7 separate regions of the Homo sapiens genome follow, and all the other regions are linked to region 1. The links are contacts of gene promoters, found by promoter capture Hi-C in blood cells and fetal thymus (Javierre and others, 2016). All regions are on one chromosome and are shown on one strand. Each heading gives the region's core, a stretch centred on a gene start or on the middle of the fragment in contact. The rest is flanking DNA. Distances are from core to core; before and after follow the strand shown. Region 1 holds the start of NABP1 (nucleic acid binding protein 1). Region 2 overlaps HECW2 (HECT, C2 and WW domain containing E3 ubiquitin protein ligase 2). Region 3 overlaps HECW2 (HECT, C2 and WW domain containing E3 ubiquitin protein ligase 2). Region 4 has its middle 11 kb from the start of STK17B. Region 5 overlaps HECW2 (HECT, C2 and WW domain containing E3 ubiquitin protein ligase 2). Region 6 overlaps HECW2 (HECT, C2 and WW domain containing E3 ubiquitin protein ligase 2). Region 7 overlaps CCDC150 (coiled-coil domain containing 150).

Region 1 (4,179 bases), core at 1,558-4,057:
GTTTTTCTTCAAAAGCTACTTTTCTTAGATTCAACCAGAATTTAAGGGCCTTAGAATGAGCCAGACTCCAAGCTGAGTGTGTTGTTTTGGTAAATAAGGTATAATTATTCCCATTTCACAGAAGAGGAAGCTGAAGTATGAGGTGTAGTAACTTCTCAAGGTCATACTGAAGTAGTAAATAGAGTTTCTATAGTTTTTAATTTTCGTTTAAATTGTACTCCCAGGTAATTGTTCCCCTTAAAATTCTATAGTACCTAACTAATAAGTTTAATTTTCCAATAATTTTTTTGATGGAAACACCTATGACTGTCACTACAGAACATGAAATACTTGAAATAAGATGCCGTTTTTAGCGTAAAAAATACTTTCAATCATTGGGTGAAAAATATTTGGGGAGCCAAAAACTCCAATTATACTAATCAATCCTCACCATACTTCCCTAAGAAGGAATTCTCTTTTGTTTTTTAAAGATGTGGAAGTTTAAATTACTGTCATGAGTCAGTGTATGAGAAGAAAATGTCTAAGTCCTGACTCTCACTTCCTGCTTTGATGACACTTTACCTCACTTCCTGAAGATGTTGTAAGCCTGCAAGGTAACACCAAGGAGCTCTAAGCTCCTACTCTCAGTGCTTTCCAATACTTCTAAGATTCTACTTATTAGGCCAACATCAATCTCCACCACTTTCCCTGCAGTTAATGATAAATTATTACAATTTTATTGATCTCAAAAGCTTCCAAATTCTGTTTTTAAGATCCTTTTCTGCCCTTTTATCTTCCTAAGATAAAAATTTGGTAAATTTCTAAAAGCAATCTATTTTTTAAAAAAAAAGTTCTAGTATTTTTTAAAGCCACCTATCCGCCAACTGACTCTTTTGGATGAAGGTATTGTAGATGCCTTTCTGCCAAACATTTTCTGTGTATCCCTTTGGTTTTTGCGCAACATCCACCTTACAGCAGAAGACACAAGAAATCATTTTGGAGAATGAGCCTTCCAGATACTGTAAAGTTTCCCTCTTTTTCCAAGTACAAATTTGACATATCACAGAATATGCTAAATCCTTTACCTATAATTTTCATTTATGTCCACATTTCTAAATAACATATGTAAAATACTGGCCAGGATTTCAAGTCATTAAAAATGGAGAAGGGGTGGGAAACAACTGAGTGGCAACTACACTAGAGAAAACAACTTATAAAAAAGAAAAAATATGGACTATACCAGTCTCCTAAAAAGACTCACTGACTCAGAATAGAACTAAAAATCTATGCCGGGCGTGGTGGCTCACGCCTGTAATCCCAGCACTTTGGGAGGTTGGGGCGCGCGGATCACTTGAGGTCAGGAGTTGGAGACCAGCCTGGGCAACACTCTGAAACCCCGTCTCTGCTAAAAATACAAAACTTAGCTGGGCGTGGTGGCACACGCCTGTAGTCCCAGCTACTTGGGAGGCTGAGGCACGAGAATCTCTTGAACCCGCGAGGCGGAGGCTGCAGTGAGGAGAGATCACGCCACTGCACTCCAGCTTGGCGACAGAGCGAGACTCGGTCCCAAAAAATAATAATAATTAAAAATCTACTTAACCTGTAAACCGGGGTAGAGGCGCGGATTTCCCAGCTGAAACCGACTGCCTTTCACTGCAAAGGTCTGTTACATCCCAGCGCTGCCCACCACCCAAAGTTAACACCAAAGGAGTTCAAAACTCCTCAAGAGTGGCCCACAGAAAAGGCGGGGGACTTCAGGGCTTGCCAAGATCCCAGGAGCCGGCCAATCCCGATTCTGCAGACTGTTAGGTCCCCCGACTTTTTTGCACACCTACCCTCTGGTCAACCGAATAATATCCCCTGGCTGTATAAGACCTCCGATCTCATCCCACACGGAAATAGTGATGCTGCCCGTTTTATCTGCTACTTTGCACGATCTCACTTCATGGCCGTCTTTGGTTTTGGTCACGCGTCCTGTGAGGATTTAAAAATCAAAGGGAGGGGTTGTTAGATAATGAGGACATCCAGAAAGGCTAACTCCTCCTCCGGTATTTTAATACATCTGGAAGGTGGGAAGTGACCAAGCCCAGGGCTCCCGCCTCAGGTAGGATCCGATCTCGGGCGGAGGCCACTAGAGCCACGTGGGTGGGGGAGGGGAGGGAGGAGGAGGGGAGCCCCGGGCGCGCAGCGGCCGGCGCCCCTGTCTCCCGCCCCGGGAGGCACAGCGGGCGGTGGAGTAGGCTGCAAACCCCACTTACCTATCTCCAGGACAATAAAGACGACATTTAAGTTTTTCAGTCCGGGCTTAATATCTCTTATAAAAATAAGTGGGTCGTTGACCCTATTCATATTGGGACAGGCGCGGCTACGGCTGCGGAGACGCGAGTGGGCAGGGCGGGGTCAAAGCTTCCCACCCTCCCGGGACAGGGGCGAAGGCAGAGGGGCGACCTTGGGCAGGGGTGGCGAGAGAAGGGGCAGAAAGCCGTTAGTCAGGGACCGGGCAAACCAGCCCGGACAGCACTGAGCCTAAAAAAAGAAAAAAAAAAAAAAAAAAAAAAAAGGCTCACAAGTTCTAAAGAAAAAAAGGCGAACCACTCCGCACACCAACCCCGCTCCCAACCGGGCGACAGGAAGGCAAGCGTACTAACTGCCCCGTTCTTTGGATAAAAGGAAAAAAAAACGCAGTGAGGGGACACTTCTGCCCTGAGTCCCGCTCACTCACACGGGCGCGCGCCCAGCCTGTCCCGGGCTCCGGGAAGGAACGGGCTGTGACAGCGAAACGGGAGCGGAGACAGAACACCGCACACCCAGCGTCCCAAACAGCGACTGATGAACACGCCCGCGCGCCGGCAGGACCCTCGGCCCGCCCCTCCCCTTGTGAAGTCACGCTGCGTCGGCACGCCTGCTGCCACGCCCGCCTGGTGCTGGGGAGGGGAAGCAAAGGGGCGGGACCCGGCCGCCGCAGCCCGCAGAGCTTCCCTCGCTCCTCCCCGGGGGCTGTCAGCGCGGGCTCCGCCCCCTCGTCCTTCCAATCGCTCTCGGCCCCGCCTCCCCCGCCCTCCCGTTCTCCACCCACTTCAGCTGTCGCCGCGCAGCAGCAGTTCTGTTCGGTTTCGCCTTCCTGCTGTGCAGTCTTTTGACGCTTGCTGTCCAACTTTGGAGTTTTCTTGCCTTTTTTTCTCTCAGAGTTGAGCCCCTGCCCGGGCCCTTTAGTCCCTCGGTCACGAGGAACGGTAGAGTTTAGAACCTGTGAGTACGTTAGAAAGTTCGCAGTCGAGGAAGAACAGGGTTCGGGCAAGGGCAGCTGGTCCGGTACCAAGGGAAAACAGGCTGGGATGGTGAAGGCGTCAGTGGCTACAAGGCTGGAAGTTTAGCACCAGAAGGGAATTTGGAGATCAATTCAACCGCCTCATTTCAGGCATACTTAAATTGAAACCCAGAAAGATGAGGTAATTTGCAGAAGGTCACCCAGCAACCCCTGAGCAGGCAGGACTGCAACACAAATGTCTGACGTGGGCTTCCACTGTGTAATGCTAAGCAGATAGGACGTAAATTCCTTTGCAGACTTCTCATTTTTCCTTACCCCCTGCCTCTCATATTACACACCTTCCCCATTTAGCTTTTCTTCTTTTACTTTGCACTTGCTTTTGTACATCTAAAAGGAATTAATTATTCAACAGCAGTGGGAACCCTTGAAACATAATCTGGAAAAAAAGATTAATAAAGTTTTTTTTATGTCGCGTAGTGAAAAGAGCATGTGCTTTAGAGACAAACCTGGGCTCCAGCTATTTACTTGTGAGAGCTTTAGGTCAATTGGCTTTTATTACAGCTTTTTAACCATAATAAAATGGGGATCCCTGCCTAGCAGAAGATTGATTAAATGGATCATAAATTGTCCAACTAGTGCCTAGCAAATAGTACATACTCAGTATTTTCCCCTTTTTAATCCCCGTTTTACAGGCGATGGAACTCACCAGAGACCAGATAGCTAGAGAATGGCTGAGCTGGGTTTTAAATCTAGTCAATCTTGACCCCAGAGCTCTCCAGCCTAAAGGTAATGTTTAGACTTAACTTCCAGTGGTGTCATTATAAGAGTCAAAAACAGACTGAAGAAATAAAATAGCAGAATAAAGTAGTGGGGCATTAAAGAATCATCTAGTTAATTCTTGGTGATGATAACAGAAATGTTGGGAAAAGTGT
Region 2 (3,814 bases), core at 1,314-3,813, 4.6 Mb before region 1:
AAGATTGAGAACCCCTGCCTAGGAGTCTCTTCTGCTTCCCAGATCTTTAAAGTCAAGTTTATTCACTTGCTTTATGACATAACTCAGCTCTTTGCCCAGCTATACAAACAGATCTCCAGACAGATTATTGGTCAATAGCCAGTTTTGTACAAATTCATTAGTAAAATCTCAATTCATTTCCCTGTCTTTAGTATTCACCTCTATGCAGATAACAACAGCTAACACTTACGTGGGATCTCTTATGCAACAGTCACTGCATAAAGTGCCATAAACACACTAACTCAGCTCATCCACACGTGTGGCCCTGAGCTCTCACCCCAATTCCAGCCCTGTATTTTTCAGTCTCTAGGGCATTTTGTTAGCTGTCATATCCAAGTCAATATGTATAAAGTTTCACATGCCCTTGTCCACCTGCATCACTTCCCACACTCTTCATAGCATCAGGTAGATAGACTTGGCTCAAATCCCAAATCTACTGTCACTGGAATATGACTTGGACAGGAAACTGCACCTTCATTTTCTTTAGTTGCAAAGTGGTGTGTGATGGTCCTAGTAATACCCGCTTCGTAGACTTGTGAGGATTTCTCAAGATCCCCTGTGTAACGTGCATCATCTGTAATGTACAGCAGGCGCTTAACAAGTAAGACCTGTTGTTATTGTTTAAATACACTTTATATTATCATCATGCTTCCCATTCTTCTTTCTTGCTTATCTATTCTTTTCCCAGTGCATATTTCACATTGTAGATGTTTCTCTGAGTCACTCACTCCAGTCTAGTCCTTATCCCCTCAGGCTTCAATTACTGCAACAACTCCTAACTGGGGCTCTTTCCTCTTGCCCACCCTTAATTTACTCAACACACTCTGAAAATAATTTCTTAAATAAAACACCATTTGTATGTTATTCTTCTGCTCAAGAACCTATAAAGGCACTGTTCACTGCATCATGCCCAAACTCCTCTGCTAGGTTTTAAAAATTCTTGTCATAATTTGGCTCCAACCCTTCTGATCAATTTCATTTCCCATTTACTCCCAGCACTCCTCCTCCACTCTAGGCTAGCTTGGTTCTCTTGGTGTCTTCTGAACACACATGCAGTGCTCATGCCAGCTGTTGCTGCTGTGTTCCACTTTAGGATATAAATTCTCCTTCTTTTGCAAGGTGTGGTTCCAATTAAGCTTCCTCCCTAAGGCCTTTTCCACTTTGATCTCTACTTATACTCATTTCTTTTTTATAACATTACTATTACTTTTGTGTAACACTGATCTTAACAAATGCTTGCGGGGCTTGGGGGGCAGGCAGCCATGTCATTGAGTGGCTGCCGCAAAGTGGTGAGCTCATGCCTCGTCTAACAGAGTAGCTGCAGCTGCCCGCTGGATCCCCAAGGAAATGCAAGCCAGTCATTGCAAGATTTCCCAAATAATTTTCAAGAGAAAAATCTGGAATTTTTAAATTTGAAATTTAATTTGTAAATGTTGGCAATTAATTTAAAATATTCAAAAAAGATTATGGGGCAAGCAACTGGGATCTATAGGACTAGGTATAGCCCCAGGGGTATAGCTTTGTTTCCTCTGCTTTCTAGTCTGTATACCTAGTTCAGGACTTAATTATTCTCTAATTGTTTGATGTTTTATTTCTGTTTCCCCAACCCACTCCAGCAACCCCACCTTACTCATTTTGGACATCCATTGGTGAACCTAACATAGTATTCCCAATGAATAACAACTATTTAGTTCACTCATTTGTTAGAGACATTTTTAATGAACTTACATGGTATGTAATGAACAAGACTTCCCAGCTTTTGTTTTCTGGTTTCTTTCATTGGTTGGGAAATATTTAGTGGAAATATCCAGTGTTTTTGTCATGGCTCTGTGTCTGATTTCCATATTCATCATCAGTTTTCTATCCCAACCTGCTGCTTGTGTTACCCAGTGACACAAAACCAGATTTTTCTATGGAAAGAGGAACAATTGGCTGGGCATGGTGGCTCACGCCTGTAATCCCAGCACTTTGGAAGGCCGAGGTGGGCGGATCACCTGAGGTCAGGAGTTCGAGACCAGCCTGACCAACATGGAGAAACCACGTCCCTGCTAAAAATACAAAATTAGCTGGGCGTGGAGGTGCAAGACTGTAGTCCCAGCTACTCGGGAGGCTGAGGCAGGAGAATCGCTTGAACTCAGGAGACAGAGGTTGGGTTAGCCGAGATCACACCATTGCACTCCAGCCTGGGCAACAAGAGCAAAACTCCGTGTCAAAAAAAAGGAAAGAGAAACAATGTTACTTTTACATATTATTAGTGATAATTACCATTGAATAACGTATAAAATATGCTTATATAATCTAGATATTCTCAGTACTTGGCACATGTTAAGAATGCAATAAATGGTCTGGCGCAGTGGCTCACACCAGTAATCCCAGCACTTTGGGAGGCCAAGGCAGGTGGATTACCTGAGGTCGGGAGTTCAAGACCAGCCTGACCAACATGGAGAAACCATGACCCTACTAAAAATACAAAATTAGTCGGGCGTGGTGGCACATGCCTGCAATCCCAGCTACTCAGTAGGCTGAGGCAGGACAATCACTTGAACCCGGGAGATGGAGGTTGCGGTGAGCTGAGATTGTGCCATTGCACTCCAGCCTGGGCAACAAGAGCGAAACTCCGTCTCAAAAAAAAAAAAAGAATCCAATAAATATTAATATTATTTATTCTTTGTGCAAGTGCGCACTTTGTGCAAGTGAGACAGGTGCCTTTTGCAATTATGTGTTATATTAAGATTTTACCCTGCAATATGAGATTTATGTAATTATGTGTCTAAAATCATTCTTGGTGATAGTGCATATCTAAAAGAAGTTTTGTAGGCCAGGTGCGGTGGCTCACACCTGTAATCCCAGCAATTTGGGAGGCTGAGGTGGGTGGATCACCTGAGGTCAGGAGTTCCAGACCAGCCTGGCCAACATGGCAAAACCCTGTCTCTACTAAAAATACAAAAATTAGCTGGGCATGGTGGCAGGCACCTGTAATCTCAGCTATTTGGGAGGCTGAAACAGGAGAATCACTTGAACCCAGGAGGCGGAGGGTGCAGTGAGCCAAGATTGCACCACTGCACTCCAGCCTGCTGGGTGACAGAGTAAGACTCCGTCTCAAAAAAAAAAAAAAAAAAAAAAAAAGTTTCATGAGGAGTTTTTTGGTGAGGAATTTAGAGTGAATGATTAAAACCTCACTCTTGGTGCCACTTACTTATATACCATGTACTTTCCATTGCAACTTCCTGTCTAATTGCCATGATATCATTTCAGCAGCAAGCAAAGACATTTCATCCTAACAGTTACTACTAGACATGAGTAACTCTGTTTGACTCATATTAGTTTCGACTGAAAAGGGGAACATACTTGAGAAACACATGGGCACCATTGTAACTATTCAAACAGAATTTTTATTCTCAACCAAAATGCCACAAAGAGGACGTCACTTAAGACCTTGGTTGAGGTTTGTTATATCCTTCAACTTGCAGAAATCAAAAATGCAGAAGTTAAGACAGTTGCCTCATTTGACTTGTTGATTGTGATAGCTTTTGTCCATGGTGATGTGATGAACATAAGGACGAGGCACAAATCCAGATTGTCCTCTCTTTGTGGTTTGCTGCAGGTACCCAGCGTGCCAATGCCCGGGCTCCAGCCCCTTACAAGCGGGATTTCGAAGCCAAACTGAGGAACTTTTACAGGAAGTTAGAGACTAAAGGATATGGACAAGGCCCAGGGAAGTTAAAGTAAGTCAAAGTGACACAAACCACATAATGTATAGATGGTGAAAGGAGAG
Region 3 (4,280 bases), core at 1,671-4,170, 4.5 Mb before region 1:
TTTTGAAAAAGTTCTCAATTTAACATTCACTTGAGTGTAATTCTGCTTTAAAGTAAATCTTTACGCTAGATATAGTCAATTCTGAGAAATTTGTGAAAATGGGTTTTGTCAAACATTCAAATAGTAGCAGGCTAGTATCTGAAGCCGATTCATCGGCATTTTAAAACTTAACCTGTAGTAACAGCAATACATATATATACTTTAATCACCAAAGCTTTCAAGCACCCCCTCAATGCCTATTTTTTCCTGAGTGTGTGTGCTCCGTGAGTGCCTGGGGCCTCACTGCCAGCTTGTGGGATGTGCCTAGGGCAGGGCTGGGACAGGTAGCTGGCTGATTTCAGCTCAATGCTAGTAATGTTGTTATAACATTAAGAGTATTGCTTTGTAGTCATTCTTTTTATTTTGTAATCTCAGATAACTGAACGAGAATTAAAGCCAGGGGGTGCCAATATCCCAGTTACAGAGAAGAACAAGAAGGAGTACATCGAGAGGATGGTGAAGTGGAGGATTGAGAGGGGTGTTGTACAGCAAACAGAGAGCTTAGTGCGTGGCTTCTATGAGGTAAAGACAATCAGCAGTAGGAGGAGTTTGCAGTCTGATATCAATGATGCCACAGTCCATCTTATTGTACTTTACATGTGTAGACTATTTCTGCTGTATTTACTGTTGCTCTTTCCATGCGAAAAGTTCAGTATTTTTTCCCTTATGTTTCAAGAGCACCAAAAGAAGCTTAACTCACTGTTACGAGAGATCACTGAAATAAATGTTATGGACTGCATTCAAGTAGCATTTGTTGATTTAATGACCACTAGTAACATTTAAGCCATGCATCTTATGCTTAGATATGGGTAATCAAATCTCATGCTTGCTATGTGAAATAATTATATCTGAGATCAGAATGAGTTGGCATGTATTGTATGTGACTTTTTCTGTAGAAACACTAGATAGTTTCCTAAAGGTGGACGGGACCTAGATTAATCAGCAATCAATTATAAAACAAAAATTCTGTCAAGGCAAATCTCATCAACCTTATACTAAAGAATGCCTTATATTTGTAGGGAGCTTTACAGGTTTTCAAGTGCCAACACAAGGTACACACATATTATTCCTGAAACTCCATGTGTCCCCTTTTCTAAGGCTTAATTATAGCTGATATTTCTCCAGGCTCCTAAGCCATGCCTTGTACTCTTTTTATTCCACAGGTGGTGGATGCCAGGCTGGTATCTGTTTTTGATGCAAGAGAACTGGAATTGGTCATCGCAGGCACAGCTGAAATAGACCTAAGTGATTGGAGAAACAACACAGAATATAGAGGAGGTGAAATTTGATTTATAGATGGCTAGATTTTAAATTTCAAATTAAAGGAAGGCATGGTTCAGCTTGCCAACTGAATATAGGACAGGCAACAGCACTTGGACTCTAATCATAGGTCTGATGCAGGCTCCCTTGAGACCTTGGGCAAGGTACATTCTCTTCTTTTCCTAATTACCTCATCTGTCAGATGGGAGAAGGACTGTTTACACACCGTCAAAGGATGTCATAACTCTTAATTGTTGGTGAGGAAATGTGACCGTAAGAACACTAATTAATTACTTTATCGTGTTGTCAGTGAAGCACCAAGGAGCTAACATCCAGCTGGTCAAACTCCACCTATTCCATTTTGTTTCTAAAACTTAGAAAAGCACACCCTTTGAGCTTCCCAATCAGCACAGTTTTTCCACTGTTCACTACGCTCCTTATCAGTTGTAATTCATAGTCAGAACACTTGAATGGAATAAGACACAGTTCCCAAAATACAACATTATTGGAGAAGTTCTAAATTCAAGCATGAATTTCAAGTGAAAAGAAGACTGTAGTAAGATTAATTAAAAACTGCACTATCTGACACTTCACAAAATGGGAAGCTAAAAAAGTGACACTTCTGCAGATCAGTACAAATTATTGATTAGTAACTGGGACCAAAGCCATTGAAATTTGAGTGTTAAACCAACACTTTGCAAGGGACCTGGTGGTAACCCAGAGTTAAGGTTTTATTAAATAATTTTAAGCAAAGAATACATTTTCTGAAAATTATCACCATGTTAGGAAGCCTTCAGAAATTCATGACAAATACCAGTTGTTTTCTCCTTTGGGTTTTGTTTTTTAACTCAAAGTATAAGAGATTAGAAGTAGTTCTGAACTTGGAGAATGAAAACTACAAACCTAACATCACTGAATTAATCACTTAGCAGAGTAAATTGAGAGCTGAACAGTTCTCTAGTTATCTCTAAGTTGAAGCAGAGATTTTTTTTAAAAAAGGTAGTTTTAAAAGTTTGTAGTAAAAAAATGCCTTAACATTTGCTAAATTGCTTTTGGTTATGCCTGTGCTTGCCTGTTCCAGCTCATCCCTGCACCATGGGCTGGCCTTGCTCACACATTTAATCTGAAAGGCTGTATTTAATTGCAGTTTCCATTGCTTCTATTTCTGAAGTCCAATTGCTGAAATAAGTATTTTCCAGTTGGCCCAAGTATAATCCATGTATCTCTTTGGTTATTATAATGTTGTTAACCCATCGATTTTTACTGAGAGCACAATTTCTCTGACATGCTACATAAGTTATATTTTACCATAAATATTATTAGCTCATTCTTTCCTTCCAGGAGATGAATTTTTTTTTTCAGACAGAGGGTGTATGCCACCATACCTGGCTAATTTTTGTATTTTTAGTAGAGATGGGGTTTCACCATGTTGGCCAGTCTGGTCTCGAATTCCTGGCCTCAAGCGATCTCCTGCCTTGGCCTCCCAAAGTGCTGGGATTACATGTGTAAGCCACCACGCCCGGACCCAGGAGATTCTAATAGCAATGCATTAATAGAATCAGCCATTTTTGTATTTTCATGGCATAAAATTTTATTCACTAAATCTGACTAATCAAGGACCTATTTATATGGTTATTGTAAATCTTATCAAATGAAATCTTTGGGAGGGGGAAGAAAAATGCTGAGAACCTCAGCTGCCATGTTTGCTCACCCAGCTACTTGGCACTGAGTAAAGAAGCGGCTGTGTGGCTGCCACCTGCCATATGTTCACACCCCAGCTGCTAGGAGAGAATATGATGAGACACATTCACTCTTCTTCCTCCAAAAGGTTTGGCACAAATAGCAAAAGGGAAGCAGAAAAGGGCTAATTCATAAGGTCAAAAAACTTTAAAGCTACAAAGAGCCAGTGCACTTCTTTTGTAGATGAGAAACTTTGCTCAGTACCAAATTGCTAGTCTTCACCAAACTCTGGGCATGGCCCATGTGTCCTCATGTTCAATCCAGTTTTGATCAGCCTTCTCTTTGATCCTTTTTTTCTCCAAAGGGGACTAAACATCACTGAAATGGTAAACAGTAAGGTGAGATTCCTCCCAAATCCTACAACTACTGAAATGTGAGGAAAAATTTGGATTAAAATAATTTCTACCCGCCTTCTATTCTGGACTACTAACTCAGTGCCCATTAACTATGTCTATTCATTGGTTTGAATCACTAAATCCTTGTTAGCCTTTTCTCTGAATTTAATTTTTGTTTTCACTGAAAGGTTTTTGGAATCCATCATCACTGCCCATGAGGTGATTCCTTTGACATTTTCTTAAATTCTACTAAAGTATGGAATAAGAGTAAAATTAAGTTGGTGATTACTCAGGATTTATTTAAGGAACTAAAGGTCACTTTTCCCTTTTTATTAGTAAGTCAATGTGAAACTAAGTTGATTTTAAAGTATGAATATTATATATAGCTTTTAAGAGAGCTTGCAGTTATGTATTTGTTTGTATAAATTATTTGATTAATGTGTCTCCCCTCTGCCAGAAGCCCTGGGAGGGTCTGTTTTCTTTGCCATTATGCCCCCAACCTTGGTACAGTGCTTGGCATAGAGGTATTTGAAAATTATTTCTTATGTGAATGACCGAAAGAGTTAAGTATTTCCAGTAACAACTGTTGTATTTTACAGAAATGATATGGTTAAAATAACTCATTTGTTGTTCTTCTCTTTACTAGTTTCACTTAGTGACCGTTAAATGAAAACAGAGACCTCTTGGTTTCACTTAATGTTGTTTTTGTTTAACTTTTGACATTCATATGATCATATATACAGTGTTATTCCTTAGTCTTAAAATTATAGACAACTTGTAAAGAATTCAAGAGGATGATTTATGTCTGGGGACTCTTCGTGTCACGTATCTTGGTGGCTTAATATAGAAGAGTCAAAGTAACATGGGCTTTTATGATTGGTTTGATAGGATACCATGACAATCATA
Region 4 (3,926 bases), core at 967-3,466, 4.5 Mb before region 1:
CCCAGGCTGAAGTGCAGTGGCACAATCTTGGCTCACTGCAACCTCTGCCACTGGGGTTCAAGTGATTCTCCTACCTCAGCCTCCCGAGTAGCTGGGATTACAGGCACCTGCCACTGCACCTGGCTAATTTTTGTATTTTTAGTGAAGACGGGGTTTCACCATCTTGGCCAGGCAGGTCCTGAACTCCTGACCTCATGATCCACCTGCTTTGGCCTCCCAAAGTGCTAGGATTACAGGCATGAGCCACCATTGAGCCACCGCACCCAGCCACCATTACTTCTAATAGTTCATTGCTTTGTACTTGTTAAGGGCTCAGTAGATGTTACTTTCCTTCCTCCTCCTGTCCCAGTGGACTGGCTTCATAGCTCCTGTCTATTGTCTTTGGGAGGCCACCAAATCTCAAGGCTATTTATATGGAAAGGGTGATTGAGCTACCCTAGCTCAAAACGTAATCCAGTCTTCCCTAGGTCAGACGACAAAACCACATATTTCTGCATGTCCCTTTGTCCATTCTTTCATCCATCCCATGAACACTTACCATACTTTGTGCCAGGTACCATAAGTGCTAGGAAACACTGCTGAATAAAGCAGCCATGTTTCCTGCCTTTGGGGAGTTTACAATGTCATGGGGAAGATGGGCAATAAACAAATAAGTCCATAATTACCAATGGTTATAAAAAGTGCTATAAAGAACAGGGAGCAGCAAGGGATGGAGAAAGCCTCTCAGAGGATGTAACATTTAAGATGAGAACTGAAGTTGGAAGAGCAGCCAGTCATTGGAAGATCAGAGGGAAAGCTCCCACAGTATCCTATCATTGCAGTCCTATAAACATCCAAAATAATTACAGCGTATACTTGAAAGACAGAATGGCTGCCAAGGAGAATCTTCTCACATGTGAACGTTGTAACATCTATTATGTTTCTCAGAAGAGTTTTGACCTACTTCCTGTTCCTTAGAAGTTAGATAACCAGATAAGTAGGTTCCCACTATAATAATATAAACTTATTTGAATAATGAGTTACAGAGATGGGACATAATGGAAAATAAAAGTGAGAACAGGTAAGCTGTACTTGGATTGTAGTGCAGTATCCTGAAAAGAAATGGGATTTGTAATCTGAGTTCAAATTTTGTCTTCACTCACTCCCTATATGGCCTTAAGTAAGTCACTCAAACTCTGTAAGCCTGGGTTTCCTCATCTGAGAAGTGAGAATAACCATTCAAGGTTGTGTTCCAAGAATTAAATAAAATGACGGATACATTGCACCTTGCGTATAAATGTATTGCCCCGCTTTACTTAGAACATTCCTCTGTGTCATTTCACTGTAAAAACAATTAATTATTTGTACTCTTAGTTCTTCATTCTTACTACAGAAATGTCAACTTTTAAAAACAGCAAGTACATTTCTTTCTCTTAAATATCTTCCTCTAACCTTAGCTCTTGGTTTGCAATTCTTAGTTCTGTGCTAAATCTTATTACTTTAGGTGGCAAATCATTCTTGATTTTCCTAAATCCCCACCTGAAACCTCCTCAGGCAATCTGGGCCACAGCAGGGAGTGAGTGTGGCCCGGCCAGATGGGGAGATGTGAACACTGTTTTGGGGCTTCTGGTGCTGCACACACCTGCAGGTAAGACAGCCGTGGGGCTTGGTCTGGCTTGCCATCTGGACTTTGGGTCCTCCAGAAAAATTATGTTTCCCTTTCTTCTGCATTGTTCGCAGCTGATCTGTCATAGGGCTCCTATAATGCTTCAGGCAAGGGGTGGGGTGAGAGAAAAGAGAAAGCATGTCTCAGGTAAGTGTGCTCTCTGGAGAGTCTTCTCTGTTAGGGGTCACTCGAAAGAGCCCACAGTCTTCAGCCCTAGACTGAACCCTGACCTCTGATGGACAAGTCACTCTCACGACCTCTGTTCTCATCTGTAAAATGGGATAACACTAGCTTTGCTAACAGTAATCCCCAGACTGTTGAGGCTCAGATAAGTCATTGCATGTGAAAGCTCTATATTGACTAAAATGCTGTACAGACATCAAGTGTTATTAATATTAATATATCCTGTGCCACATTCAGCATGTGTGATTGACCCAGAAGCTTTCAGACCTACTCAGGACTGAGCTACTAGAGGGGATTTTTCTAGGTCAATGAGTAACAGAAAGTGTCTCAAAGGTATTGCCTATTTTTACTGTGAAAGGACAACCTCCTCAGAGACAGGCTTAATGAGAAGAAGAACGCAAGGACTGGTGATTAAGAGATAATTATATACAAAACTAGCCTATTCTGATAATTTGTGTGATTTATTTGGGCAAATTATAAATGTGCTGTTAGCTTAGGTTAAACTAAACAAAGCTTACTGAATTAATGGCGACTGATCAAATCTTTATTTCTGCAATTTCCTGTTCTTAGCAGGAAGAAAAAAAAAAGGCCTGGGTGAGAGACAGGAAGAAATAAAGACAACTGATTTTATGCCTGTGGAACTTCTCTCAAGTAGACCAAGATAATCATCTGTCAAGTGCTCAAACATCTCATATTTTAAAAGGTGCATCTGTAGTTTAGGCTTGCAAGAAATAGCTTAACAATGGTCATTCCATGTGCCAGTTTTTAAATTTCTCAACCTGTTCTCAAGGTGGGGTGTACTAATTTATGCTTGTCTGTGGATTTCTACTATACACAAGCCTTTCTGCTGAGAAGTTAACTGTGGAAATTGGAGATGAGAGGAAATAGCAATGGGTTGCTCACCTTGTACGTTTTCCCTAAATTATTTCAAGACGCTGCTTCAAAGAATCCTTCATCTGTGGTAGTATTTCAACTGTAGAAGAAGATGCTTTTTCTAGTCAAAATTAATTTAAGTCCCTAATAATTCGAGTTAGCATGAAATGGAAAGATCTGAAGGGCCCAACTGACCTGCACACTTTTCACTTTTGATGTCTAGCAATAAGGTAGTAACTAGACTAGAATAGAAATGCGTTAAAATTTGCTTGCGAAATTGTAGAAGGCAGAACCATTCCAGGCACTAGCAGCTCAAACAGAAAAGCGTTATATTTTATATGTCGTATTAAATAATAATGAAAAGTAACCTAATAGGAACCAGTTCCAAAATCCTTTCTGGATAATTTGGTACATTTGAAATCTAGTATGCTTTTCATGCCTCTCTTAAGCACTCTATAAAACAAGATTCTCTCAAATGCGTTAGAAGATTTCTGTTTTGACTGGCTCAGCGAGGCTGGAGGTACTTGAAATGATTTATAATGAACTAAGCACATGGCATGGCGTCACCAGGCATTCTCTTCAGAGCCTCTTGCCCATTTTATAGAAATTGCACAGCTGGGAAGTAATACAATGAAAATCTTACACTCTGCTTGTTGAAAGTTGGATCACAATTCCAAAGTCTAAGTAAAAATGTATAGCCAGAGTAGAAGGCCAACATTTTTTTTCATCTTTCAAAAAGCTAGATGTTTTAACTTATTTGTGTTGTTGTTTGTTTTCTTTTTTTCTTTTTTTTTTTTTTTTTAAACAGGGTTGCCCAGGCTGGAGTGCAACGGCACAATTATAGCTCACTGCAACTTTGAACTCCAGAGCTCAAGCAGTCCCCCTTCTTCAGCCTCCTGAGTAGCTAGGACTACAGGCGCATGCCACCATGCCTGCCTAATTTATTTATTTATTTATTTATTTATTTATTTTTGTAGAGACAGTTTCACCATGTTGCCCAGGCTGGTCTCAAACTCCTGGCCTCAAGTGATCCTCCTGCCTCAGCCTCCCAAAATGCTGGGATTACAGGCATGAGCCACCGTGCCTGGCTGTTGTTCGTTTTCTATGGCAGATAAAACAAAGGGTACATTTATTTTGCTTTCTTTTTATTTTGGTTAACCATGGTTTATTTGTAGAATTTCAGAAAGGCTGATTAATATAAAAGTGGTCAAAATATATAACCACA
Region 5 (4,048 bases), core at 782-3,281, 4.5 Mb before region 1:
TGAAGGCAATTAGAGTCAAATCTTGTTGATAGTAATGAAATGTAGCTAACAATACCTCTATTATTAATTGGTCAAACACTATGAGCCAGTCATTCTATTAAGCATGTTTCTGTTATTTCACTTAATCCTCACATCCTTCTCAGACAAGTTATATAACCACCCTTTTAAAGGTGAGAAATACGGGCTCAGAGTTTTAATAACTCACTCCAAATCACACACTTGTTGATAGAGCTAGAATCCAAACCCAAATATGTCCAACTGCAAATCTCTGGTCTTCCCACTACATTACACTGCATCCAGGAATATTAATTATATTTATTTCATAAGGAAAAGGGATTTATCAGAGTAAAAGTATAGACATGTGACTTTGTAGAAATAGCTTGTTAATAATCATAGTTCCTAAAATTTCTTATTCAGGAGTATTTTTTTTAAGTCAAAGTTATGTAGGTCCCCCAAACAAGCTGTTGTACATTCAGAATAGAATGTTTCCTATTTCATGTCAAAAGTGCAGATTTGCTTCCTGATAAGATGTACTATTTGGAGACTGTCTATTTTTTATTGTGATTCAGATGCAAATAACAGGAAAACATATTTTTTTCCTATCTTGGCAAAAGAAGTATTTCTAAAAAAGAATACTTAATGTAATGATTTAAATTGCTTATTTTGTTATTGTGAATTGGGAGAAAGCAAATTTTAGCACAGGATTCAAAGAAGTAACAATGGCCTACTGACTTAGAAAAGTCCAGCCAGGGAATTTCCCAAGACTCTAAGCCATGAGGCAGGCCCTCAGAGACACTGGCTCCTCTTCCCTGTCCAAGAAAATGAAAAAATGCATAACTACAGAGTATCGAAGAGACACCCAGGCATATGCCAACTCAAAATGAACTACTTTGCAAGGCCTTATGTCCGTGTATTAAAAAAAAAATCTAGCATCAAAAGAGAAACAAAAACCAAACTTGTCTTTGTAATCCTTAGACCACTCAATAAATGGTCATTTATATGTAATATAGCTTTTAAATGGTGGTGAAATGTAAATAAAATATTTTTTTAAATATCCTCTTTTCCTTAGAGAAATTCAGTTCTGAATTTTTAAGGTCAAAATGTTTTCAAAGATTTTTCAAAAGGAGTGTGAAAATTGGCAACAAATAAATTTGAATGTGAAAGACAGTCATACACACACAGACACACACACACACACACACCACACACATTTTCATTTCACTCGGCCTGTTCTAAACTATGTGCTGTTTCTTGTGTTTTCAGAGCGCATACATGTTTTAACCGTCTGGATCTGCCTCCCTACCCATCCTTTTCCATGCTTTATGAAAAACTGTTGACAGCAGTTGAAGAAACCAGTACTTTTGGACTTGAGTGACCTGGAAGCTGAATGCCCATCTCTGTGGACAGGCAGGTTCAGAAGCTGCCTTCTAGAAGAATGATTGAACATTGGAAGTTTCAAGAGGATGCTTCCTTTAGGATAAAGCTATGTGCTGTTGTTTTCCAGGAACAAGTGCTCTGTCACATTTGGGGACTGGAGATGAGTCCTCTTGGAAGGATTTGGGTGAGCTTGATGCCCAGGGAACAACCCAACCGTCTTTCAATCAACAGTTCTTGACTGCCAAACTTTTTCCATTTGTTATGTTCCAAGACAAAGATGAACCCATACATGATCAGCTCCACGGTAATTTTTAGGGACTCAGGAGAATCTTGAAACTTACCCTTGAACGTGGTTCAAGCCAAACTGGCAGCATTTGGCCCAATCTCCAAATTAGAGCAAGTTAAATAATATAATAAAAGTAAATATATTTCCTGAAAGTACATTCATTTAAGCCCTAAGTTATAACAGAATATTCATTTCTTGCTTATGAGTGCCTGCATGGTGTGCACCATAGGTTTCCGCTTTCATGGGACATGAGTGAAAATGAAACCAAGTCAATATGAGGTACCTTTACAGATTTGCAATAAGATGGTCTGTGACAATGTATATGCAAGTGGTATGTGTGTAATTATGGCTAAAGACAAACCATTATTCAGTGAATTACTAATGACAGATTTTATGCTTTATAATGCATGAAAACAATTTTAAAATAACTAGCAATTAATCACAGCATATCAGGAAAAAGTACACAGTGAGTTCTGTTTATTTTTTGTAGGTTCATTATGTTTATGTTCTTTAAGATGTATATAAGAACCTACCTATCATGCTGTATGTATCACTCATTCCATTTTCATGTTCCATGCATACTCGGGCATCATGCTAATATGTATCCTTTTAAGCACTCTCAAGGAAACAAAAGGGCCTTTTATTTTTATAAAGGTAAAAAAAATTCCCCAAATATTTTGCACTGAATGTACCAAAGGTGAAGGGACATTACAATATGACTAACAGCAACTCCATCACTTGAGAAGTATAATAGAAAATAGCTTCTAAATCAAACTTCCTTCACAGTGCCGTGTCTACCACTACAAGGACTGTGCATCTAAGTAATAATTTTTTAAGATTCACTATATGTGATAGTATGATATGCATTTATTTAAAATGCATTAGACTCTCTTCCATCCATCAAATACTTTACAGGATGGCATTTAATACAGATATTTCGTATTTCCCCCACTGCTTTTTATTTGTACAGCATCATTAAACACTAAGCTCAGTTAAGGAGCCATCAGCAACACTGAAGAGATCAGTAGTAAGAATTCCATTTTCCCTCATCAGTGAAGACACCACAAATTGAAACTCAGAACTATATTTCTAAGCCTGCATTTTCACTGATGCATAATTTTCTTATTAATATTAAGAGACAGTTTTTCTATGGCATCTCCAAAACTGCATGACATCACTAGTCTTACTTCTGCTTAATTTTATGAGAAGGTATTCTTCATTTTAATTGCTTTTGGGATTACTCCACATCTTTGTTTATTTCTTGACTAATCAGATTTTCAATAGAGTGAAGTTAAATTGGGGGTCATAAAAGCATTGGATTGACATATGGTTTGCCAGCCTATGGGTTTACAGGCATTGCCCAAACATTTCTTTGAGATCTATATTTATAAGCAGCCATGGAATTCCTATTATGGGATGTTGGCAATCTTACATTTTATAGAGGTCATATGCATAGTTTTCATAGGTGTTTTGTAAGAACTGATTGCTCTCCTGTGAGTTAAGCTATGTTTACTACTGGGACCCTCAAGAGGAATACCACTTATGTTACACTCCTGCACTAAAGGCACGTACTGCAGTGTGAAGAAATGTTCTGAAAAAGGGTTATAGAAATCTGGAAATAAGAAAGGAAGAGCTCTCTGTATTCTATAATTGGAAGAGAAAAAAAGAAAAACTTTTAACTGGAAATGTTAGTTTGTACTTATTGATCATGAATACAAGTATATATTTAATTTTGCAAACTTTTCACTTGTTTGTATTCTTTTCATTATAAGGAAAAGTAGTATAACACACTTTTTTTTAAGTCACATATTTGATGGTATACAAGATGTTTCAGGGCTGGCATTCTCCAAGCAGCAGATAAAGGTTGCATTTCTTTCAAAAATACATTCAAAGACCATGTTATCCTTCATTTTGGTTTGAGACATTTAGTTATGGTATTTCATATTATTAGGTAAAAGATATTTGAAATAAAATGTATCTCTTTAATTATTTCTAACAAATATATTTCTTTATTAAGGCATCCAACTTTTTCCCAAATAACAGTACACTTTAATGTATGTAGACATTCTTAATTAGTATAATCATCTAGTTGATACTGTTCTCAGATTGGGAATTATCAAAGATGTACTTATCATATCAGAACACCATGCTAACTTATCTATTATTCTTTCTTAGTAAAACAAAACAGCCAGTAATAACTATATAAAATATTAAATAACATTTCCACAGAATAAATTAGACTTTCATGTACTCTACAATTAGAAATATCCATAAATATTTTCTTCTGGACTGTGAACCCAGATAACTAGGCTTTCTGGTCTTATTTTAAGTGATGCTCTTTATACTATAGAAGACACTCTTAATACATCATATATGTATGCAGAA
Region 6 (3,780 bases), core at 793-3,292, 4.6 Mb before region 1:
AGTCCACACAGGTTTTATCACTGGAGTACTTTTTACAAGACCTGAGAAGAAGGATGTTTCACTCAAGGTTAGTGAAGAGGAAACATTACCCAGGATGTGAGGCTGATGACAAAATCTCACACAAAACCTTTATTTTTTTGTACCCAGAATTGGATAGTAAGAGAAAGGACTGGGAAAGATTCCTGTTCTGTCCATTTTTCTGCTTTGTTTTCTGGTACATCCATTGCTTAAAGTTATTTCTTTATAAAGATGTAAAAATGTTTTCTATATGGGACCTGCCCCATTTCTTGATGATGTACATAGAGTTCCATATGAAACATTCTGTTCCATAATGGGAAAATAGGTTTCTAAATAGGCATAAATATACTATCTGCCTCTGGCATTTGCCTAGATACCTTCATCTCTAGGTGTTAAGGTACTTTGTTAACTGAGCTCCATTGGTTTGAAAGGTCAGTTCTTTTTTGCCTGTTATTTGGCATACATCATGTGCCTTGATACTTGGTTTATAGGTACTGAGTCTCCTGGCTCTCCTAATAGCCTCTTTCATCTTTGATGACCTAATTAACTATCTGATCATGGAAAACTTACAATTTCTAATTGTACTTAAGATAATGGGTTTCATTATTACCTTGAGTCAATTTTACTTTGAAAACTTACAACATTGGGCCCCTAAGGATAATGATAGATAGCACTTGTATAGTTTTAGAATTAAACAAACAGACCAAAAAATGCTTTGCTACATTGTAGTCCATCTTACTGCAATGCTGAGGTAAATGGTTTATGCTCATTCATGATTTCATGTTATCAGAGATTCTGCAGTGATCATGACAGACATGGCTTCCATTCTTCTAACACATTATGGGGGAGAAATGTCAGGAATGAAGGAGACATGTTTTTGTAAGAAACATATAGCTCAGAGAACTTAAGTGACTTACCCAAAGTTCTAGACGGTATGTGATGAGTTTGTATGGGTGTGTAATGGGCGACTAAACTGGAAAGGCATGTAGGCAGACTGTTAAAGAGTAATGAAAAACTGACCAAAGAGTGGGAATGTCTTTTCTGTGGACAATGGATAGCCATGAGAAGCTTTGTATTGGGGTGGTGATGTAATTGAAGTGTTTAGAAAGAATATTCTTATAGTAACGGGCCAGTTAAATGACTATGGTGATAGAGATGTGGAGCAGCTGAGAAGCCACCAGCACTTACACACATAAAATAAAGTCCCAAAATAATGGGGTGGTGTTCAGGCTGGGAGGGGACAAATAGAGGACACTACAGTGAGAAAATGAGAAGGATTTTGTGGCTTACTGTATAGGAGAAGGAAGAAAGAAGAGAAGTCAATGATGTTTAAAAGTTTCGGCCAGGCGCGGTGGCTCACGCCTGTAATCCCAGCACTTTGGGAGGCCAAGGCAGGCAGATCACGAGGTCAGGAGATTGAGACTATCCTGGCTAACACAGTGAAACCCCGTCTCTACTAAATACACAAAAAATTAGCCGGGCGTGGTGGTGGGCGCCTGTAGTCCCAGCTACTCGGGAGGCTGAGGCAGGAGAATGGCATGAACCTGGGAGGTGGAGCTTGCAGTGAGCTGAGATCGCGCCACTGCACTCCAGCCTGGGTGACAGAGCGAGACTCCGTCTCAAAAAAAAAAATTTTTTTTTTTAAGTTTCAAGGTGGTAAGAACTTTATAATAACCACATATGACAGTAAGAGCTCAAAGACCATCAGTTAAGAGAAGCCTAAATGTCCATTCTTCTGGCTTCCTTCTTGGATCATGTCTTTGGTGACTATCTCGTGGAGCATTTCCTAAAACCAGGCATAATGTTCCTTCCTGCTCTCTTCGTTCTGGATCTCATCTAAGCTTGGCTTTCTCTAATCTGATCTGTCCTGTGTGGGTAAGGAGAAATTTCCCCAAAGATTGAAAATTATGAGAAAATAGAGCTAAGATTGTGACTCAGAAGTGAGTCTTTTCCTGACCGTCTGATGTTATAAGTCAGCTAAGACATGTGAGCGGCATGTATTTGACTCAGTGTATTGTATCCTAGGCATTCTTTGTGGACCACAACTCCCGCACCACCACTTTCATTGATCCCCGGCTCCCACTTCAGAGCAGTAGACCCACAAGTGCGCTGGTTCATCGGCAACACCTGACAAGGCAACGCAGCCACAGTGCGGGTGAGGTGAGTCATGCGTTTTGGGGACTGACCTGTTGGTTGATAGAAGCTTCTAGTATGTGATGGTTTGAGGAATTTGACTGATTTTTTTAAAGCATTTTTTCTTTTTTTTTTTTTTGAGTTTGATTTAGAGGCTGAAAAGCTTTCGAATGTTGACAGGGCTTCTCTGGAAATACATACAGCCTAAATCACAAATTTAAAAAGGTAGGATATATGAGGCAAAACTGACGAAATTTAAGATTTTTTGACTCAGAGGAAGGTGAGAGGGTGTTGATAATGTACTAAAATGTTCGAGACAGGAAGATGATAAGCCCATTTGCACACCCATTTTCAGCCTCACAGGAAGAAATGAATATAACTTGGTTAAATGTGGAATTTCTTTATATATATATATATATATTTTTTAATTATACTTTAAGTTCTAGGGTACACGTGCACAATGTGCAGGTTTGTTACATTTGTATACATGTGCCATGTTGGTGTGCTGCACCCATTAACTCATCATTTACATTAGGTATATCTCCTAATGCTATCCCTCCCCCCTCCCCCCACCCCATAACAGGCCCCGGTGTGTGATGTTCCCCTTCCTGTGTCCAAGTGTTCTCACTGTTCAATTCCCACCTATGAGTGAGAATATGCGGTGTTTGGTTTTTTGTTCTTGTGATAGTTTGCTGAGAATGATGGTTTCCAGCTTCACCCATGTCCCTACAAAGGACATGAACTCATCATTTTTTATGGCTGCGTAGTATTCCATGGTGTATATATGTGCCACGTTTTCTTAATCCAGTCTATCATTGTTGGACATTTGGATTGGTTCCAAGTCTTTGCTATTGTGAGTAGTGCCACAGTAAACATACGTGTGCATGTGTCTTTATAGCAGCATGATTTATAGTCCTTTGGGTATATACCCAGTAATGGGATGGCTGGGTCAAATGGTATTTCTAGTTCTAGATCCCTGAGGAATCGCCACACTGTCTTCCACAATAGTTGAGCTAATTTACAGTCCCACCAACAGTGTAAAAGTGTTCCTATTTCTCCACATCCTCTCCAGCACCTATTGTCTCCTGACTTTTTAATGATTGCCATTCTAACTGGTATGAGATGATAGAATTTCTTAAGTGAAGTTTTCTATATTACATTAAAATATCCATCCAGGGATATGGGATTATGGAATCCTCACTAGTATTCTTTAAAATTAGGATATTTTTGAGAGAGTTGATTTATATACTTTATGTGCCTGGAGAAAAAGGGCTGAACTAAGAATTACTAAAAACTGCTCTACTTTACCGATTTGCAGGGACCAATGGTAACCACACGAGGGCCCTCTAATATCCTAACCAAAAAAAAGAACAAACCTTGTTTCAGTTCTTCCTTTTGCAGCTTCAATATATAAAAGAAATGTCTTAAGTCAAGTTTTCTTCTCCTTCATATGGGCTTATGATTTGATTATATACCATCACTTGATTTACATTGTTTCTGAAAATTCCCTTAGACAATAGAATTTGGATCCTTTACCCACCTTTACATGCCTTTTCTGTGTCTATGTGCATGTCATATTTTCAGTATTATATTGTACATCAAATATCTTTGTAGCCATATATTTTGTAT
Region 7 (4,303 bases), core at 1,208-3,707, 5.0 Mb before region 1:
TACAGCTATTGACATCAACTTTCCACAGACTCCTCCCCCAAAACGCAATGAAAATAAATAAGAATAGTGAGAATACTTTCAAGATATTAGTGACAGAAGCAGAATTAGCTTATATGTGGTCACAACGTGTAAATGAATCACGTTCAATGACAAGGTAATTGGTGAAAACTTTAAAAACATTGTCCTGCAACTCCGTTCTCTGCAGACATTTCTCTACTAATCATGCTGTAAGCCTTAGCCATTTCTAGCGATAGTGTTCGTATGGGAATGTGTTCACAAGGGTCCAACTTGGGATATCAGGAATACACCTTTGTACCCACTTCCTATGTCATCAGGTATCTCCCTGACCCTTACCTTCCTGGAAGTGAAAGGGGGGTCCACCTCATGTTCAAGTTGCTGAAGGTGGTCCTGGGACCCAGGGCAAGAATTCATGAAGTGGGAGGACTGGTGGCAGGATTTAAGGGAGCAAGAATCATGGTGGGGCTGAGCTTGCTATACCCGCTGAGGATGTTTCTTCATCCTGAAATAGCTCTCCAATTCACTTTGTATCTTCTTCCCACAGGTTCCAGAAAATGGCCTATTTTTTTCTTTTTCGAGGCAGAGTCTTGCTCTGTCACCTAAGCTGGACTGAAATGGAGCGATCTTGGCTCACTGCAACCTCCACCTCCTAAGTTCAAGCAATCCTCCCACCTCAGCCTCTCGGGTAGCTGAGATTACAGTTATGTGCCACCATGCCCGGCTAATTTTTTTTTTTTTTGTATTTTTAGTAGAGACGGGGTTTCACCATGTTGGCCAGGCTGGTCTCAAACTCCTGACCTCAAGTGATCTGCCAGCCTCAGTCTCCCAAAGTGCTGGCATTACAGGCATGAGCCATCACGCCCAGCCTATTTTTCTTTTTACTCTTACTATGGTGTTTCTGACCAGAATTTTTCTTTCATGCCCTACTGTGAAACTTTTTTTGACACAAGCTTTTTGCATTCTTTAGATTTGTTGTTAAGTCAGCTTAAGGACATGGGGTGAAAGAAGCTCCCTTCTATTAATTAACTTTCATTTTTTTCAGTTCATTCCTGAAGGAAAGACAAAGACATGCAGATATTGATGCAGTCTCTGGACACGCAAAATATTCGAAGTGGGGCTCCTCTACATTTCTGGGAAAAAAAAAACTGATGTGGAGACTCCTGGTAATGTTACCACATGAGCCAGTATAGTATTCCTCAAGTAGTAAACGAAAGAGCCTCTGAGTAAGCCCGTCGGGCTGGATCAGCTGCCATAAACCAGGGCTGCAGTTGGTGGAGCCACCAACAGCACTGGGTGGGGAAAAAATGGAGGGGTAACAATGGAGAAACACCTCCATTCTATTTTCTGTCACCTGCTGTCCAGCTACTGACCTAGAGATAAATCATGCCAAAGATGGGGAGAAAACCTAGGGAAAGGGTGGCTAATAGGGTGTGCGCAGACACAGCTCCTTTGTCCTCTCTCCAAAAGAAGCAGAAAAGCTCATGACCCCAGCCTCGCCTCAGCAGGCACACTCATGTGATATATTCTGGCCAAAGAGACTTTGGGCAGAAGTTTGCAAAAGGGCTCCTAGGCAGACTTTTGTTTTTCTAGATTAAAAAAAGAGTAATGATGGCACCTGTCTTTTCCTACCCCCTTACAATTCCCAGAGCGTTCCATCAGTCAGGTATGCAGCAGCTCACTCTCAAATATAAACGAAGAGCCAAGGATCACCAGTGTCTGATAAACACAAGGAAAAGACAGAGAACCTCAGACTATGTTGACACTTGGGCAAAACCAGTAATCTTCAAACTCTGCTTATGTGAGATAAAAAACTTTTTTTTGTTTGTTTTAGTCACTTTCTTCTACATATAGTAGGCCCAGGCATTAGCTGGTGGAAAAACAAGTAGAAGGAAGAAGTAAAAATGACAAGCAGTGCTGGAGAGGGGAAGGGAGAACAATTTCTGTGGCAATTTATTAGACCCAGGTAGCTGGTTATAATATAGAGTCTTGTCTATGTTCATTTATATCAGAAGCCAAGCACATAATACTAATACTCATATTGCAAAAGTCTGTCTTTGGAAAAAAATGGAAATGGAGAAGCTCCCCCACATATTTTGAATAGGATGCAGATTCCCAACTAAAATTTTTTCATGTAATTGTTCAAATGTTTAGTTTTGTTGATATTTCCCTAAGGAACCTATGATCTGTATTAAATGCTTACATTGGCTCTCCAGGACATGTGTACATTCAGCCATGAAAACAAAACAGCAAATCATTTAAATTGCTTCACTTGTTTTAAAAAAAAGAAGGTCCAACATGTCGCGGTAGGAATTTGGTTTGCATCCACACTGAGTGCCACCCGACCCTGCTCTACACTGAAGCTTCTCAGGCTTCCATAGAGAAAATATACTTTCAAAAAGGAGCAACCAACTTGGCCCAGCCTCTGAGGGGAAGGAGGTTTATAGAAAATTCACCCTAAGAAGGGGGAGATTGAGGTGACTCGGACACTGATTGATGGTTGGCAGGGCACAAAGCTTTTGAGTGAAATACATGGTGTTGTCCTTAAAATATCCTCTTAGTCAATCGCTGAGAATCCTGTTCAGGTCATCAAAGTTGCTGAAACAAAAATTAAATAAGCCAATCTAGCCTTTGGGGATTTACTAAAAACAGATCTCATGGCCAGGCACAGTGGCTCATGCCTGTAGTCCCAGCATTTTTGAAAGGCCTATGTGGGAGGATCACTTGAGGCCAGGAGTTCCAGACCAGCCTGGCCCACATGGCAGGACCCTATTCTCTTCCAAAAATTTTTAAAAATGAGCTGGGCATGGTGGCCTGTGCCTGTAGCCCTAGCTACTTGGGAGGCTGACGCAGGAGGATCACTTGAGCCCAGGAGGTAGAGGCTGCAGTGAGCTATGATTGTGCCACTGCACCCCAGCCTGGGTGACAAAGCAAGACCTTGTCTCTAAAAAAAAATAAAAAATGAAAACAAGTCTCAGGGTTAGTTAAAAACCTTCCCTCCCAACCACCACCTCCACTTCCCGCCATGGGAAAACAAAAACAAAAACCAAACAATGCCAAGGTCAGGAGAGTCCTTGGAAGCAAGGGAGGGGGCGGTAATGGCTGAGTAGCAAGAGGACAGCCTTAAAGCCACCAGGCAGAGTCCCCGAGTATCTGGGAGGCTGTTAAAGTATGAGATAAGAACTTTCAATCCAGTAAATTAATCTACCAAGTTGGGGCTTAAAGTTAGAGAGAGATTCTCATTTTCACTGCAGTTGCTCATACCCTTGCCTGTCCTCCCCATCTGGTAGGCCCAAAGCAGTGGTAGCAGAAATGCCACCCACACCCCTACATACATAAATACACGCACACTCTCCAATGGCCACTTGGCAGATCCTCATAAGTCATAGTTCTATGGCTCATAGTCTAAGAAGCACAGTCTTACATGAAAACAATCTACCTCTAATGGCTGACATTCTAGCAAAGAGACAACAGCTTTAACATATCTGTGCTTTGTTGTGTTTGAAAAGGAGCAAATATTGATTGCTGCCTTGAACCTAAGTCCTAACGCTTGATAGTAACAATAATAAAAATACTGAGATATAAACTTTTATTTTTAAAAAAGTTCATTCATAACTAATTTCTATGCATATATTATTATCAAACTAACAGAATTCTGTCTTGATGTTTAGGGAGAATATTTCCAAAGAGCTTCTAGGCAGGTAACCTTATGGAAAGCATGGCAAGAAAAAGACCAATGTCACAAGTAATATACTAGTAAAAACCAGATGACTTTGAAAAGAGAACACATGCTTCTGTGGACACAGGCTCCATTCCTACACCTGGCAATAGGTGTACACTGGCAAAAGCGTATACAAGTACATGCTGTTGGTTCCAAAATAACAGTCCAGGGAGTCAATGTTGTTTATCACAACCACTAGAAAATAATATGGTAACACTGTCTTCATTCACTCACACATCTAACAAATATTTCCTGAACATTTACCATGAGCCACACACTGTTATAGGCAATGAGGCGGGGGGCAGGGGTTGGGTAGAACAGTACGAACAAAACTCCCTGCCTTCGTGGAGCTTATATTCCAGCTGAAGAAGACAGACACTAAGTAAAATACATAGTTTGTTTATTGGTGATAAGTGCAAAGGAGGAAAATGAAATAGGAAAGAACATGGTATGGAGGCTACAGGGCAGATTTTCATTTTAAACAGGGTGGTCAAAGAAGGCCTCATAACATTTGAGCAAAGACCTGTTATATAGATATCAGAGGGCAGAAAGGCCCAGAAGACGGAA

The links. The method cuts DNA at HindIII sites, captures the fragments that hold promoters and counts their contacts. A CHiCAGO score of 5 or more calls a contact.
Region 2: a fragment that was not itself captured here is called in contact with the fragment with the promoter of NABP1 in region 1 in 12 of 17 cell types (monocytes, total B cells, activated CD4 T cells and 9 more); the score reaches 23.6 in monocytes.
Region 3: a fragment that was not itself captured here is called in contact with the fragment with the promoter of NABP1 in region 1 in 6 of 17 cell types (total CD4 T cells, total B cells, non-activated CD4 T cells and 3 more); the score reaches 10.3 in total CD4 T cells.
Region 4: a fragment that was not itself captured here is called in contact with the fragment with the promoter of NABP1 in region 1 in 7 of 17 cell types (non-activated CD4 T cells, total CD8 T cells, naive CD4 T cells and 4 more); the score reaches 10.5 in non-activated CD4 T cells.
Region 5: a contact is called between a fragment that was not itself captured here and the fragment with the promoter of NABP1 in region 1, in 1 of 17 cell types (naive CD8 T cells). The highest score is 5.3, in naive CD8 T cells.
Region 6: a contact is called between a fragment that was not itself captured here and the fragment with the promoter of NABP1 in region 1, in 3 of 17 cell types (total B cells, activated CD4 T cells and non-activated CD4 T cells). The highest score is 8.5, in total B cells.
Region 7: a fragment that was not itself captured here is called in contact with the fragment with the promoter of NABP1 in region 1 in 2 of 17 cell types (non-activated CD4 T cells and naive CD8 T cells); the score reaches 7.5 in non-activated CD4 T cells.

Annotation. Positions count from the first base shown.
Region 1 is chr2:191,676,764-191,680,942 of GRCh38, reverse strand. NABP1 (nucleic acid binding protein 1) reads right to left here and starts at 2,807. Exons shown (of 6, transcript NM_001031716.5): 1 at 2,238-2,807; 2 at 1,815-1,953. The coding sequence starts at 2,328. RefSeq lists enhancers at 437-1,636, 2,464-2,966, 3,176-3,255 and silencers at 2,106-2,165, 2,766-3,115. The HindIII fragment of the contact is 1,958 bases long and covers 2,388-4,179 here.
Region 2 is chr2:196,242,034-196,245,847 of GRCh38, reverse strand. It overlaps HECW2 (HECT, C2 and WW domain containing E3 ubiquitin protein ligase 2), which reads left to right. Exons shown (of 29, transcript NM_001348768.2): 20 at 3,644-3,764. Among named protein-coding and RNA genes, the nearest start is that of HECW2-AS1, 16 kb to the left of the region's middle. The HindIII fragment of the contact is 2,772 bases long and covers 1,178-3,814 here.
Region 3 is chr2:196,217,076-196,221,355 of GRCh38, reverse strand. HECW2 (HECT, C2 and WW domain containing E3 ubiquitin protein ligase 2) reads left to right here. Exons shown (of 29, transcript NM_001348768.2): 25 at 415-561; 26 at 1,203-1,317; 27 at 4,263-4,280. Among named protein-coding and RNA genes, the nearest start is that of HECW2-AS1, 41 kb to the left of the region's middle. RefSeq lists a silencer at 1,604-1,804. The HindIII fragment of the contact is 4,378 bases long and covers 732-4,280 here.
Region 4 is chr2:196,181,014-196,184,939 of GRCh38, reverse strand. No RefSeq gene overlaps it. Among named protein-coding and RNA genes, the nearest start is that of STK17B, 11 kb to the right of the region's middle. The HindIII fragment of the contact is 255 bases long and covers 2,089-2,343 here.
Region 5 is chr2:196,198,604-196,202,651 of GRCh38, reverse strand. HECW2 (HECT, C2 and WW domain containing E3 ubiquitin protein ligase 2) reads left to right here. Exons shown (of 29, transcript NM_001348768.2): 29 at 1,264-4,048. The coding sequence ends at 1,375. Among named protein-coding and RNA genes, the nearest start is that of STK17B, 29 kb to the right of the region's middle. The HindIII fragment of the contact is 8,632 bases long and covers 1-4,048 here.
Region 6 is chr2:196,276,926-196,280,705 of GRCh38, reverse strand. HECW2 (HECT, C2 and WW domain containing E3 ubiquitin protein ligase 2) reads left to right here. Exons shown (of 29, transcript NM_001348768.2): 15 at 2,044-2,178. Among named protein-coding and RNA genes, the nearest start is that of HECW2-AS1, 19 kb to the right of the region's middle. The HindIII fragment of the contact is 362 bases long and covers 1,862-2,223 here.
Region 7 is chr2:196,641,415-196,645,717 of GRCh38, reverse strand. The region is part of intron 1 of CCDC150 (coiled-coil domain containing 150); the gene reads right to left. Among named protein-coding and RNA genes, the nearest start is that of CCDC150, 3.9 kb to the right of the region's middle. The HindIII fragment of the contact is 153 bases long and covers 2,381-2,533 here.